Regions from separate parts of the Homo sapiens genome. Here region 1 is linked to region 2. The links are contacts of gene promoters, found by promoter capture Hi-C in blood cells and fetal thymus (Javierre and others, 2016). All regions are on one chromosome and are shown on one strand. The core of a region is centred on a gene start or on the middle of the fragment in contact, and the rest is flanking DNA. Distances in the headings are between cores, read along the strand shown. Region 1 overlaps EZR (ezrin). Region 2 holds the start of TAGAP (T cell activation RhoGTPase activating protein).

Region 1 (7,293 bases), core at 1,406-3,905, 240 kb after region 2:
GTTTCACCATGTTAGCCAGGACAGTCTTGATCTCCTGACCTCATGATCCGCCCGCCTCAGCCTCCCAAAGTGCTGGGATTACAGGCGTGAGCCACTGCGCCTGGCCTGTTATGTTTTTAAAGAGAAAATTGAACCACAGGTCACTTGGTTAAAGCTTAGCACATAAATATGAGATTGGAATCACTTTATTTGTAAACATATATGTAGTGTATATTGGTACAGTATTTTCATTAAGGTGTGTTTCATTGCCTCAGTTAAATAATTAAGGGTGTTGGCTGCTGGGATGTTGAAGTATTTGCTTACATAATCCATTGCTGTTTGGGTGAGACTCTTAAATGGATTTAGACAGATAATGGTGAGAAAACTGGATTTTTTATTTAGAACGTGGCTGAACAAGGCAATGTGGAAATAGTGTGATAACAAGGTGCATTATATAACTTGAACAAATCAACTGCAAAAAGACATTTTCAAAGAAATGGAGGAAAATTGAATAATATTTACTGAACTTGACGTATTAAGGAATTGTTTTAAATTATGTTGGATGTGATAATGGTATTGTGATTTTTTTTTTTAGTGCTTTAGAGCAATATACTGAAGTTTTTACAAGTGAAATAATGAATGAGGGCCTTAAAATATGCCAGCAAAAAAAAAAAAAAGTGAAAGTGGTAGAGTAGAAGAAAGAATGGTGTTGAAGCTGAAAAGAGAGTGTGGAGGATCATGGTACTACTTATTCTCTCTACTTTTATGAATGTTTTCAACTTTCCATAATAGAATATTTGCTTTTAAAAAGCATGTTATAGGGTAGAAAGGGAGAGATGCTTTACTTTTGCTCGTCATGAAGTGCCTGAGTGTTGAGGTGGGAGGATCTCAGGGCGAGGGCAGGTCCCCCATTCCCTGCTGCTGGGGCAACCTTTGTGCTCTGGATCAAATGAGTAACTGATTTGATCTCATCAAATGGCCCCACCCGGGCCATCTCACCCTCCATGCACATGTTTTAAAAGGAGGTCACTACTCAAAATTGCAGCTGACTTGGAAACACATAGAACGATTTGTTCCCAGTTTTTTCCACTATTACTTTGTATTCCCAATGTTTTGGGGGGCCCATAGGAATGGGGCACAGTGCTGTGACCCAACTGGGAACAGGTCATTGTCTTAATAGCGATTTTCTCAGACTTGAAAATTGAAATGAACAAAATAAGGGGCATCTACTGGGTAGGGCTTTAGCCATTTTAAGAGATCAATCTACATACTGGGGCTGTGGGCAGGGATGGGGGAAGGAAATACAGCAAACCATGGGTTGGGGTTGGGGTGAGTGATAGGGTTGTAAAATGTACACCATGTCTTTTCCAGTCAAGTAATGATGTACAAATTATAATGCCATTTCAGATGTAACATACTTGATACTGACAGTATAAATTGAAGAGTTTTTTTAATTTTAATTTAGTATAATTTCAGAAATGGTGATTTTAAAAGTTTTGGCAGGGTTTGCTTATTTAAGCAAATTTTGTAAGATTACTGATTTAGTTTGGATTTTTTAAAAGAAGCTACTTTGGTCTTGCTAATTTTTGACACATGGCAAAAGTAAAGACTGGGGTGAGTTCAAATCTTGTCTAATCGAAGTTTCTTACAGGAGAAATGTTCTTTAACATTGTATAATATTGCTCATGTGATCTTAACTAGGGGCAAAAATTTATCTCAGCAATGGCACAAGACTTAAGTATGGTTTATGTCTTATGTCCTCTAAAAAACAGGTTAGCAAAGAAATTTTTCGACCTTTTTTTTTTTTTTTTTTTTTTTTTCCTGAGATGGAGTCTCTGTCACCAGGCTGGGAGTGCAGTGGCGCCATGTAGGCTCACTGCAGCCTCCGACTCCCTGGTTCAAGCGATTCTCCTGCCTCAGCCCCACGAGTAGCTGGGATTGCAGGCACACGCCACCATGCCCGGCTAATTTTTGTATTTTTAGTAGAGATGGTTTCACCATGTTGGCCAGGATGGTCTTGGTCGCCTGACCTCGTGATCCACCCACCTCAGCCTCATTGTTTCCTAGACTCACCTTCTCACTCCCAAGATCAGAAATTGGAAATCATCATTCTCAGTAAACTATCGCAAGAACAAAAAACCAAACACCGCATATTCTCACTCATAGGTGGGAATTGAACAATGAGATCACATGGACACAGGAAGGGGAATATCACACTCTGGGGACTGTTGTGGGGTGGGGGGAGGGGGGAGGGATAGCATCGGGAGATATACCTAATGCTAGATGACGAGTTAGTGGGTGCAGCGCACCAGCATGGCACATGTATACATATGTAACTAACCTGCACAATGTGCACATGTACCCTAAAACTTAAAGTATAATAAAAAAAAATAAGAAAAAAAGAAAGGAAAAACTCTTCACAGGCTTCTAAATTTGCAGAGACAACCATGCATTCCAGGTGAATAGTGATGTTTAATCTATAGGCCTTTAGTTCCCTATCTTTTCTGAGCCTACAATTAAAACCGACTCTAGCATATAATAAGCCATCTTGGCCTTGTCCCTTACTTTTGTTTATGTGTGTAGTTACTAAGTTTACTAAGTAGTTACTAAACTTAAGTTTCTGTGTATAATTACCTGCACATTTCAGTGAAGCATGTTGGTGATGAAGTATTTATGATATACCTAGTGAAACTGAAATCACATGGTATACAATCAAGACTTAGACTTCAGGAGTTTATTAGATAAATTCTTGTTCAAGGTCCCTTTCTCTTTATTTTGCCTGCCCTGAGGTAAGGAGATGAGAAGGATGTAGATTGTGTTTCTAGAAAGAATAGTTTCTTTTGCTGAATGTAACATCCTTTGATTATTTCTTTTCCCTTTCTTAGGGGAAAGTGGTGTCTAAGAATTCCAGTTTACTTCCCTGTTAGATAACACACAATGTATGTTATTTCCAGTGTAGAAGAAGTTGGTTCTTAATTAGAGACACTCACCAAAAAGGGCCTTAAAAACTAGCAGCTAATAGGTATCAGGAGCATTATTTTCATACGCCATCAGCAGGTCGGAAATGGCCATCAGTGTTACTCGGCAGTGCAGGCTTGGAACTCGGGCATGACTAGCAGTCATTTCATTGTCAGACCTATGGAAAGCAGCTCCTTTCTGCCTCCCAGATGCAGTGGACAGTAGGGAGGGCTTAGCACAGAACTCTTCCCAACCTGGTTTTAAAATGACCCTCTTTTGAATGTGAATGCCCAGAAAGTTCCCTTCTAGTTCTAAGGTCATGATTTTCTTGCTGATAATAATGAGCACAGATGGGACTGGTTTGTCCGCTTTTTGTGTTTGTTAAGCAGCCTTGGTCTGACAGGATGTGGGTCTAGGGGCAGGAAGTGGCTTACTCTCAGAGGAAAAAGGAGAGCTATTTAGGATTTGAGATTTCATTACATGTTCTTGAAATTATGGGGTGGCTATTATTCTGGACTCTCTCTGTATATTTTATATATATATATGTATATATATATATATATGTATGTATATGTATATATATATATATATATGTATATATATATATATATATATATGTATATATATATATATATATATATATATATATATATACATATATATATATATATAATGTTACATAATATTTACCCTGGAGTTGGTAAATACAAACTTTTCAAAAGCATAAAACCATTGGCATCTATTTAAAGATACTATTTTAGGAGTAATGTTAAAGAGCCAGAGCTACACAGATATTTTGGTAGCTGATTACCAGAAGTTGAGGGTCTCAGTTTTTGTAACCATTAAAAAAAGGTCATCAGACGAGGATAACCGTATACCTCGTATCGAGTACTCATTTGGAGTCACTCTACCAGTTATACTTCATCACTATTCTGATTGGCTACTTAAAACATACGTTTATATAACATAAAAATGTAACATCATGTAGATACGTGAAAAGTCAGTTACTAGGAAATTCCCAGCCCCCACTTCTGTGTCAATACTCTGCCCTGTTAACGTCTGCTGCACATTAAGAATTTAGCCTTGACATTTTAAGTTTAGCCTAATGGTGGTGCTGGAGGAAGTAGTAAGGAGAACAGTTTAGAAAAGGAGGTGTGAGTGGCATGTAGTGTTACTTTTCATCATTTAAATTACTCAAAAAGTTCCTTAAAGTGCTTCTGGCTTCTCTGGGAAATGAGTTCCTGCTTCCCTGTGGTGTCAGGAGAATCGCAGGGTAGGAGACACGGCCCCTAGGATACTGGACATGGGCTGGATGCTGTATTCGAGGGATAAACCATGTATGGTTCTTGTGCTTAAATAAGCAAAAACCTGGCCGGGCGCGGTGGCTCACACCTGTAATCCCAGCACTTTGGGAGGCCAAGGCGGGTGGATTACGAGGTCAGGAGATCGAGACCATCTAACTTAACATGGTGAAACCCCGTTTCTACTAAAAATACAAAAATTAGCTGGGCGTGGTGGCACATGCCTATAATCCCGGCTACTCGGGAGGCTGAGGCAGGAGAATCGCTTGAACCCGGGAGGTGGAGGTTGCAGTGAGCCGAGATTGCGCCACTGCACTCCAGCCTGGGCAACAAGAGTGAAACTCCGCCTCAAAAAACAAACAAAACACTACCACCAAAAACCTAACTAGCCATAGTCAAGTAGAAGTATACAAATATTCCAGAAGAACTAAACTATAAGGTGTTTGTAAATATTTAGATGTGAATGAGTATAAACAACGCATCAAAAAATCATAAAAATTGATATTTGGTAAATTTTCCTTTCTGCCAGACTTGCTGGCAGTTAAAATTTGAAACAGTGACTGTACCGAAAGCCTTTTTATTCAGGTTAAAAGTTGTACTCCCATTTCCTAAAATAAGGACTGAACTGAGAAACTCTAGCTACAGCTACTTGGTTTTCCATAGAGTTAAGTTGGCTCCTTAGATGCTGAAGTCTGTAGTTATGACCTTGCTTTCATTAGTAATTAGCACCTGGGCAGGTACTAACCAATGAATGCCCTTTACACCTGGCAAGAAGGAATGGGTGGGGAGGCCAGATTGTTTCAATCTAAAGGGCACTACGTTGTGGTGGGTTACGTTTTTTGGTAGACAGACACTGCCTACAGGCAACTAAGTCATTCCATTAACTGTCATTATCAATCCATGTGTGGCCAAGCTTGAATTGTCCTGCTGGTTTAGCTTCCTGATGGGGAACAACAGCTGTCGCAACGCACAGTGTCTGCAGCTCCATCATGGGCCCCAGGACGTCCCACAGCAGCTAACACTGGTCTGTACTCGGAACTCTGCCACCTGGCCAGTGACTTTTGTGCGTCATGTTCCTGGGAATAGTATGACTGTCCATGATTCCTAGGAAAGCTAGAGGAATAACTGAGGATGAGGAGCTAGCACTTTGACCCCTGTGGGGAGTGCTGGTTATAGTGGTTATCAGGGTTGTGACAAGTGGACTCTTGTGAGTTCCAACACTGGATGATTTTATTATTCCTATTACTCAGGCAGTAAAAGACTAGTACATATCCTGGTGTTATATAATTATATGAAAACTTATCAGAATGAGTTTTATAACTAGCGTACCCATGTTTTTGTTATTGTGCTGCAGATAAAATGGCGCACTGAAATGTTACTGAATTATGTGACAATTTTTGTTACAATTCTGTGCACTTTTTACAAGATTTGTGGAGCTTAGATAGATGGCTGGCCTTTGGCATCTGAACATTTTCCTGAGCCCGATAGACAAGCAGATTTTTTTTGTTTGTTTTTGGAGACAGGGTTCTCATGCCTGTAATCCCAGCACCCTGCCTAGTTCAAGACCAGCCTGGCTGGCAACATGGTGAAACCCCGTCTCTACCAAAAATACAAAAGTTAGCTGGGCATGGTGATGCACGCCTGTAATCCCAGATACTCTGGAGACTGAGGCAGGAGAATCGCTTGAACCCGGGAGGTGGAGGCTACAGTGAGCCGAGATTGTGCCACTGCACTCCAGCCTTGACAGAGCGAGACCCTGTCTCAAAAAAAATTAAAAAGACAGGGTTCTGTTACCCAGTGTGGTGGCGCAAGCATGGCTCACTGCAGGCTCGACCTCCTAGGCCCAAGTGATCTTCCCACATTGGCCTTCCAAAGTGCTAGGGTTACAGGAGTGAGCCACTGTGCCTGGCCAAGATTTCTTTGCCTTTGCGCTCATGTTCTTCTTTAACCTTAAAAGAAGAGGTCATATAAAATAATCAGGTATAATTTAAGATACAGAAAGCTTGATAGAAAGGAGTAGCCGTGTTCTACATCTTCATCCATTGCATTTGCAGATATGCCTCAGGATTATTTTATTAGTACAATTTTTTTTTCTTTTTGAGACAGTCTCACTCTGTCACCCAGGCTGGAGTGCAGTGGTGCAATCTCGGCACACTGCAGCCTCCACCTCCCAGGTTCAAGCGATTGTCCTGCCTTATTCCCTGGTGTATCTGGGATTACCAATGTGCACCACCACACCCGGCTAATATTTTGTATTTTTAGTGGAGATGGGGTTTCGCCATGTTGGCCAGGCTGGTCTCGAACTGCTGGTCTCAAGTGATCCACCTGCCTCAGCCTCCCAAAGTGGTAGGATTATAGGCATGAGCCACCGTGCCCAGCCTAGCGTCATGTATTTATACTGTTATTTCCACCTCCTAAAAGTCAACAAGGACACTTAGCTCAAGAAGGCTGATGTTGAGAGAGAACGCTTATCAGAACAGGGATCTCTGAGGAAAAAGGGAGCTTAAATGTGTGTCCCTGGAATTTCTTCTAGCCCTTCCTTTCCTTGGTGACATGGCCACTGCTATGGGCGGGAATTAGAGAAGAGCCCTGACCAGTGGTGTTGATGTCTTTGCCAAGTATACTGTCAGGTCAGTGTCATAAATTGATGATATATATAGAGAGACTTCATTTAATAGAAAATAATATTTTAAGGACCACCTTGCTATTTTACTTCTCTAATAATGTTTTGAATATTTTGATAAATACCTTTAGCAACATAGTGGTTCTCATCTCAGCCCTCTCTGTCCTTGAAAGAATGTTATTTATAACAGGGTGGTTTCTGGACTGCCCTTCTGGAGTAAAACTTGGGCATTCTAACCATATGCTTGCTGGAAACCATAATAATGTAAAAAGTCGTCATTGGGTTTTCAATTGCAATTACATTGATATAATTTTGTATATAAAACAGTCTGTTACTGGGAGCAGCATTGTTCATGTAAGAAAGATGTTCGCTTCATATAATACATGGAAACAAAGTTATATTTTCAATGTTAGCCATTACTGTGACACTCCA
Region 2 (7,132 bases), core at 3,792-6,291:
CACTGATAATGTAGCTAAGATGAAGCCCTGCCTGGGTCCCATAGCAGTGATAACGCAGCTAAGGTGAGGCCCTGCCTGGGTCCCATAGCAGTGATAAGCGCGGCTAAGCTGAGGCCCTGCCTGGGTCCCATAGCAGTTTGTGTCATCAGCCATACAGCTTCTAATCACCTAATCTCAGGATGTCTTATTTTTAATTCTTCATCTTGATCACAATAAGTGGAGAAGCCAGTTTAAAAAGAACATTTTGTTTGAGCCTTTCTTAGTTTTCAAGCCAGCTTTTGAAAACACAGCGTTCTTCAAATATTATTTTATGCTGAGCCTATTTTGTATTCCAACACAAAGATAAATTCATAATTGCAAATATCTGAGGGGGCAAATTTGAAATGTCTGCTTCCACTACTGCAGAAATGCAGCCATTTGTGGAGACAGCAAATTATTTTGCAAGATGAAATGATGCTTGACATTATTTCAGGGATGCCAGGGTCCCAGCAAACCTCTGAGAAGTTCCCTGGAAGGCAGCCCTTCTCCTGCCAGGAAAAAAAACAAAAATTAAAAAATGACCTTAAAGGACTGAACTGTATTTACCGTAGCCGAGACTGAGTCCTTGCCTGTATCTGTGAGCCCGGGGCCTGCAGAGAGGTGAGAACGTCTCTTCCAGGCATATCTTCCCCACCCACAGACTTTCCTAGAAGTTTCTTAGAGGAGAGGCAGGCAAGGAGTTTTATTGCTAATTCGCTATAACCAAAGTCACCGCATAAAAGATTCTGCAGGTTGGGTACTTTGCAGATTAGTGAATCCAAGACCGTCATTCAAAGTGAGCACCAACTTCCCAGCCCCCGGAGTCCTTTATGCTAAGTCCTCCTCTGCCACCAGACAGTGAGGAGCATGGCTCTGGGGACGTCCACACCTCCCAGAGCACACAGAACTAGGGAGTCTAAGGTGAGAACACTGGTAAGGCTTTGGTCCTTGGAGGGTGGGAGGTGAGAGGCTGGACAGGTGTGGTCACGCCCTCCTGACAGATTCACTGACAGAAGCTGACACTCAAGTCCACCTAAGGCGAGGCCTCCTTCCTCACCACAGAGCTAGAGAGTCCATGTGTCTAATCCCACAACATTGGTATCGACATAAGCCCGCGGTGTGTGCAAGGAGAGGCTGTCTCCAGCTCAATCAAATTCTGCAACGATGGTCTCTGTTACAGCGTGACAAAGAGGTAGTCTTTCTCCATGAAACGAAACAGTCAAAGGCTAAGTGACAAAAAGTCTGAGTAACAAATTGCAATACCAGCAAACGTATGGTGAGATTTAAATGTTTTATTTTATCACTCAATTTTACTAGTAATTAAAGTATAGCAAATGCCTACTGTGTGCAAAATATGAGGCCAGGCACTTGTAAGAATAAAAGATGAAAAAAGTAGACTCACAGTCTACTGGGTGCGGCCACTATGCAGGGCCAGGGAAGGAAATTTAATTCAATCTAGAAAAGTCCCTTCTTAGAGGAGATAGGACTTGGGCTAGATTCCGAGGGAAGGGCAGAATTCCAAAAGGCAGATGGCGTGAATGGCATTTCAGGAGGAGGGAACAATTTATCAAAGGCCTGGAGACTCAGAAGCACACTTTTAGGGGATGACAACAGCCTGTGTGGCTAAAACATAGGACAAGTGGGAGATGGGGAGGACGGATAATCAGAGAAAAGGCTGGATTGCCCTTTTTTAAAAAAAAGAAATTGTAATTTGAGTTTTCTAGAAAATCAACCTGTTAATCAGTCATTAGGTAGCCAGACACTGGGGTGATGGAGAAGTCCTGAAGGAAATCGTGAACTCTTTGGGAAAATAATCTTCAATGCAGGAAACTGTTGACATTAATCTCATTACAGAATGCAGGGCTCTGAATCACTGGGTGGTCCCAGGAAGAGAAAGGGAAAGTGAGTTCAAACTGAAGAGCCGGACTCTAATCCTCCAGTTGGTGTTTCCCAGGCAAGCTGGGTAAACAATGTGGGGAAAATGACTTCCATATTCTCGTTCACAACAGTCCAGACTGAAGCGGTAACTGAGCCTGAAAGTATGGGAAGGAACGATGGTGCTTCCAGTCACCCTCCAAAGCACACATGTACACAGCATAGAACTCACAGTCCCCAGAACGGAACTCACTGTCCTTAGAGACTCACCACAAGAAAAGCAAAGCCAATTATTTGCAGAAAAATTGATTGTGACCAGGACCCAAGCGATAAAAGTCCCACTGTGAGAAGCATCTTTACAGGTGTGGGTTTCACCGGGGTTTCCTTCAGCCCAACCCAGCAAAAGCCACTGAAGTTCCTTTCCACGTTCTGAAGACTCTTACTATGCAGGACGATGAGAGCTTGCTTTTCAAAGAGATGTGTGGGAGACAAGAATATGGAAAAAGTGAATCTGACATTTCCATCTTTTTTTCTAACTTTTGGCATGACTGCTTCCAAATTTTACACTTTATTTATAAATGTTTCTCCTAGTGCTCGGAAAACTGCGATCAAAATTACTGTGAGATTTTCAGAGTTGAGGGTGCAGCACCTGCCCTTCACAACTCTTTCTCTTTCCACAGTAGGCGCCATATGCAGGCGGGGCCACAGTCATAAAGGAGAACGTCTCCTCAGTCCCCCAGCAGCACCAGCCAACAATGGTGGCTTTCCTTCAGTCACAAAATGTACCTATTCATTAGATGTTGACTGTCAAAATCTCCCAGGGACCCCAAAGGATGGCACCTCCCTCTGGGCTTTCCCACCATCAGTTGTGTCAATAAGAAGAGCCAAAACATATTTCTGTTTCAAAAAATGGAGGGGCCCTAATTCTGTTGCCGTATTTGCTACTAACTTTTCATCCTAGATAGTTCCCTGGGTGCTTAACTAGGCATGGTAGGTCCCAGAAGAAAAAGAAAAGTCCGTCGATGTAACCATTTCTGCAGGTCATCAAACCATTCATGTTATGTATTTTTAAAAGATGCTGAGGCTGGGCACAGTGGCTCACATCTGTAATCCCAGCACTTTGGGAGGCCAAGATGGGTGGATCACCTGAGGTCAGGATTTCCAGACCAGCCTGGCCAACATGGCGAAACCCCATCTCTACTAAAAATACAAAAATTAGCCAGGTATGGTGGCGCGTGCCTGTAATTCCAACTACTCAGGAGGTTGAGACAGGAGAATCACTTGAACCCAGGAGGCAGAGGTTGCAGTGAGCCGAGATCACGCCATTGCACTCCAGCCTGGGTGACAAGAGCGAAACTCCATCTCAAAAAAAAAAAAAAAGAAAGAACAGTAAGTACATTAAGTTTCTTACAAAAATTTGAAAAGTCCGTTTGTCGGGAAAAAAAAAAGTTTAGAAAATACATACTAGCAATGAATATACATCACATATATATTCTATGATATATAGAACATTATAGTAATATTCTATTTTGGCTATTTTATAAGGAAATGTATATATTCAGAAATTAGTTATTTAGTACCTACTATATGCCTAGCACTAGGCTGGGCACAGCGTAAATGCCCTTTTTCAATTAAAAAAATCAGTGAGTTCACTTTGGAGGTTTATAAAGGCAGGAGAGGGATGCTGAAAGAGTGGTGGCCTCTACAGCTGCCCTGGGAACACTGGGTGAACTCTGGCACTGTGGTGGCTTTCAGAGAGGGAGCCCCCAGCTGGAAGCCTGAAAACCAGGATCTGTCCCTAGGTCCCCACCGAGCCGCTAAGTTACAGAGCAAATTTCGACCTCTCTGTGCTTCGGTTTCCCAAAGTCTGCCCCATAATCACCTCCTTTCAGTAAAATGACAAAAGAACTGACAATGCGGAAAAGTCTTAAAATTAAAGATGCTGATGATAAATGAAGCCAAGTTATTTTAAAACTTTTTATTGAAAAATTACATAAATAGGGAAGTGTGCACATAAGCCTAGCACCACCCAGATCAAGAATGGACCATCACCAAGCCCCCCGCTGGCCCCTGGAAGTCATTACCATCCCCTCTGGGAAACTGCTACTCTTGCTTCCAACAGCACAGACGACTTTTGCTAATTTTGTGCTTTGCATTAATGGGAGCCGGCAGGATATACACTTTCACGTCTGGCTTCTTTTGCTCAGCGTCATATTATGAGATCCAACCATATTGTTGGCTATAGTCATAGGCTGTTCATTATCAGTGCTATACAACATTCATTCCCTATGTGAATGGATCACAATTTATGCATCCATTCTCGTGTCGAGGCATTTGAGTGGTTTCATATATAGCCCTTGATCTACAGAAAAGATCAGAAATTCTCTTATGCAGAAGAGTGATCCACAAATGAAATTCACCATCTCTTTCCTACTTTAAGTTGGTCTGATCAAAGGAATTTTTTTGTTTGTTTTCCTTCCGTGTCAGAACGACAGCTGCTCTGACTGTAAATTAAGTATCAATACTTTTGACCAGGAGTTACAGAAAGGAGGAGGGGGTTACTATATTGACAACTGACTCGAGGGAGTTTTCTTTCTACTTCCAAAGGAAACTAACCTGGCTTTGGACGGTGATTGTTCCTCAAGGAAGGGACTGTCTTGGGTTTCTTTCTGGTTCTGTAACAGTGTCCCACATCCAGGGGTGCTAATCAACGTGTGGTGCTGGTGGACAGAGCAGATGGCACGTGGGAGGGGAAAGAGCACCCAAACAGGATGCAAAAAGAGGCACTTGAAATTACCACTTTAGAAAATAAAGTGATGTTTATGCACAGAATAACACAATTTCTTGTTCACACATCCCACCTATGACATTAATCAGAGCCTTCACCTATGGGCTGAATGTCATGTTTTCCACTCCTAGTAGTTTACAGATTTTTTACTTTGAAGTGGAAGACACAAAAAAAAAAAAAAAAAAAAAAAAAAAAAAAGACATAGCTGCCCTAAAAGGAATGAGGAAGCGAGAGCTCTCCAGTGTCTGGCTGGCTCCGTCCGTGTGACAGCCCATGATGTTCTTTCCGGTCTCTGTAATATTCTGAATTTCCACCTGCCCGCCCCTTCGCTTATAATGCAGAGCATGTGAAGGGAGACCGGCTCGGTCTCTCTCTCTCCCAGTGGACTAGAAGGAGCAGAGAGTTATGCTGTTTCTCCCATTCTTTACAGCTCACCGGATGTAAAAGAACTCTGGCTAGAGACCCTCCAAGGGTAAGTACACTATATATTAACATGCCTAGAAATTACAAGCTGCCTCGCAAGTCACAGGTCACTCAGATCACAGGCAACAGAAAACAGCTATCCCGTGGAATATGCTCTCACTTTATAAAGTCTCAGGACAAAGCTTTGCTTCAACGTGAAGGCTGCACCTTTTTGGTGTAGGAGTTCTGTAAATGTTATCTTTGTTTCATGTTTACTATTTTAGCATCCTAGGGATATGTTTTTTTTTTTTTCCTTTTTGGATTAGATGAGAAAATCCATGCAAAGCACCTACTACGACAGCTGGCATATAGTCAGCACTCCACCAAAAAAGTTAATGTTCATGTTAATTTAAAATGTTAACGTAATTGATATCCAGATTATCTCTTGATGGAACGGAATAAATTGGTAACAACGTTTAGAGTGGTAAAGATAGTTGACTTAAATAATTTAGAAATAATTGTGTTCAGATGCTGCTCTTAACAACATACAACATCTGGTAACAGAACTGATTTTAAATGAAAACTTGTCTATGTAATAGTTTTTTCCAAAGTAAAGGCAAGTGAAAAAATAGCAAAAGAGAAAAATAAATAAATAGTTTCAAACTCTGTGCTTTGGCAAAGTGGCGCTGAAAGTGGCCTACTGTGTGAGTCCCTCCTAACTCCTTTCCATGTGATTCGTTGTAGACAGAGGCACAGCCACACGGGAGTGAAATCCACCCCTGGACAGTCAGCCGCAATACTGATGAAGCTGAGAAGCAGCCACAATGCTGTGAGTGCCCCTCTCACATTCATTCATTCACGTTTCCTACAGGCAAGGGCCAAAAGATATTTACCTAATTTTATTTTTTCTCTTTTAGTCAAAAACACTAAACGCCAATAATATGGAGACACTAATCGAATGTCAATCAGAGGTAAGAAAGCAATTTTTAAGACTTTTTATCTGTACTGTGAGAAGGTGGAAAACTTTGTTTTAATTGAATATTATTTGGGTTGAATAGTAATTATAAGAGTAGTAAACTAACATCACACATGTAGTAAATTAAGCACATTAATTAGGATCTTATATGATGACAATCAAGACCTTAATATTGCTTCTAGAAGCTAGAAAAAACATCAATGCACTCTACTGACTTCATTTTTAATATGAATAAAATGCTGTATGTGTGTTTTGTGGGGAAAGACTCGATAGGTTTCTTCAGTCACTATATTTAACTGAAATAAAAATGTTTTTAGGGTGATATCAAGGAACATCCCCTGTTGGCATCATGTGAGAGTGAAGACAGTATTTGCCAGCTCATTGGTGAGTTTTAAAAACATACCGATCTTTTATGTAAGTGCTAACAACCAGTGCTCTTGGTTTGCAAAACCACAGCGCTTTTACTCTACTAGGAATTTTTTTGTATAAGTTGTTCTGTTAAAGACCGCAGAACATTAACCCTTAAATGGCAGGTATGCTCCAACTCACTAGAGCAGGGAGTGCTGGGAAAGGAAAGAGCCTCTCCATAGAGAATCCCCAGTTCTGCCAAGCGTTTTTAATGCGGTTCAATCTCCTGGCCATGTATGTTTCGACAATTAGCATGCACACATTTGAAAAACACACAGTGTCTTTTCCATTTTCTTCCTTCTCTTATGGAGAATGCATCCAAGAGCCTATGAAGCAACTGTTGCTGATCTCAAATCCCAAAGGACCCACCATTCACTCTCAACTTTTTTCATAATGCATTTCATTATAGCGTAACCCTGACCCAGTTCTCCTGAACCATAAAGACAGGCCACTTCTTTCTCATCATGCTTCCACTTGCCAATCTGAAATGTATAGAAACAGATGCCAATGCATTTAGAAAATATAGCCTTTATAATTAGTAAGAAAGGAGAAGGAAGGAAGGAAGGAAAAGAAAAGAAAGAAGGAAATGTTTGAGATTGCAATATCCATTGCACACACATCTTGTGGATTTCAGAAGGACAGAATATCTTGATAACGTTTTGCTG

Evidence for each region. Contacts are between HindIII fragments. The CHiCAGO score rates a contact against its expected background, and 5 or more counts as called.
Region 1: a contact is called between a fragment that was not itself captured here and the fragment with the promoter of TAGAP in region 2, in 1 of 17 cell types (naive B cells). The highest score is 5.3, in naive B cells.

What each region holds. Positions count from the first base shown.
Region 1 is chr6:158,799,844-158,807,136 of GRCh38, reverse strand. All of the region lies in intron 2 of EZR (ezrin), which reads left to right. Among named protein-coding and RNA genes, the nearest start is that of EZR-AS1, 14 kb to the left of the region's middle. RefSeq lists an enhancer at 3,230-3,339. The HindIII fragment of the contact is 4,997 bases long and covers 157-5,153 here.
Region 2 is chr6:159,042,900-159,050,031 of GRCh38, reverse strand. It overlaps TAGAP (T cell activation RhoGTPase activating protein), which reads left to right and starts at 5,041. Exons shown (of 10, transcript NM_054114.5): 1 at 5,041-5,153; 2 at 5,828-5,912; 3 at 6,001-6,054; 4 at 6,377-6,443. The coding sequence starts at 5,886. It overlaps TAGAP-AS1 (TAGAP antisense RNA 1), which reads right to left. Exons shown (of 5, transcript NR_183546.1): 5 at 6,976-7,132. The HindIII fragment of the contact is 8,846 bases long and covers 1-5,288 here.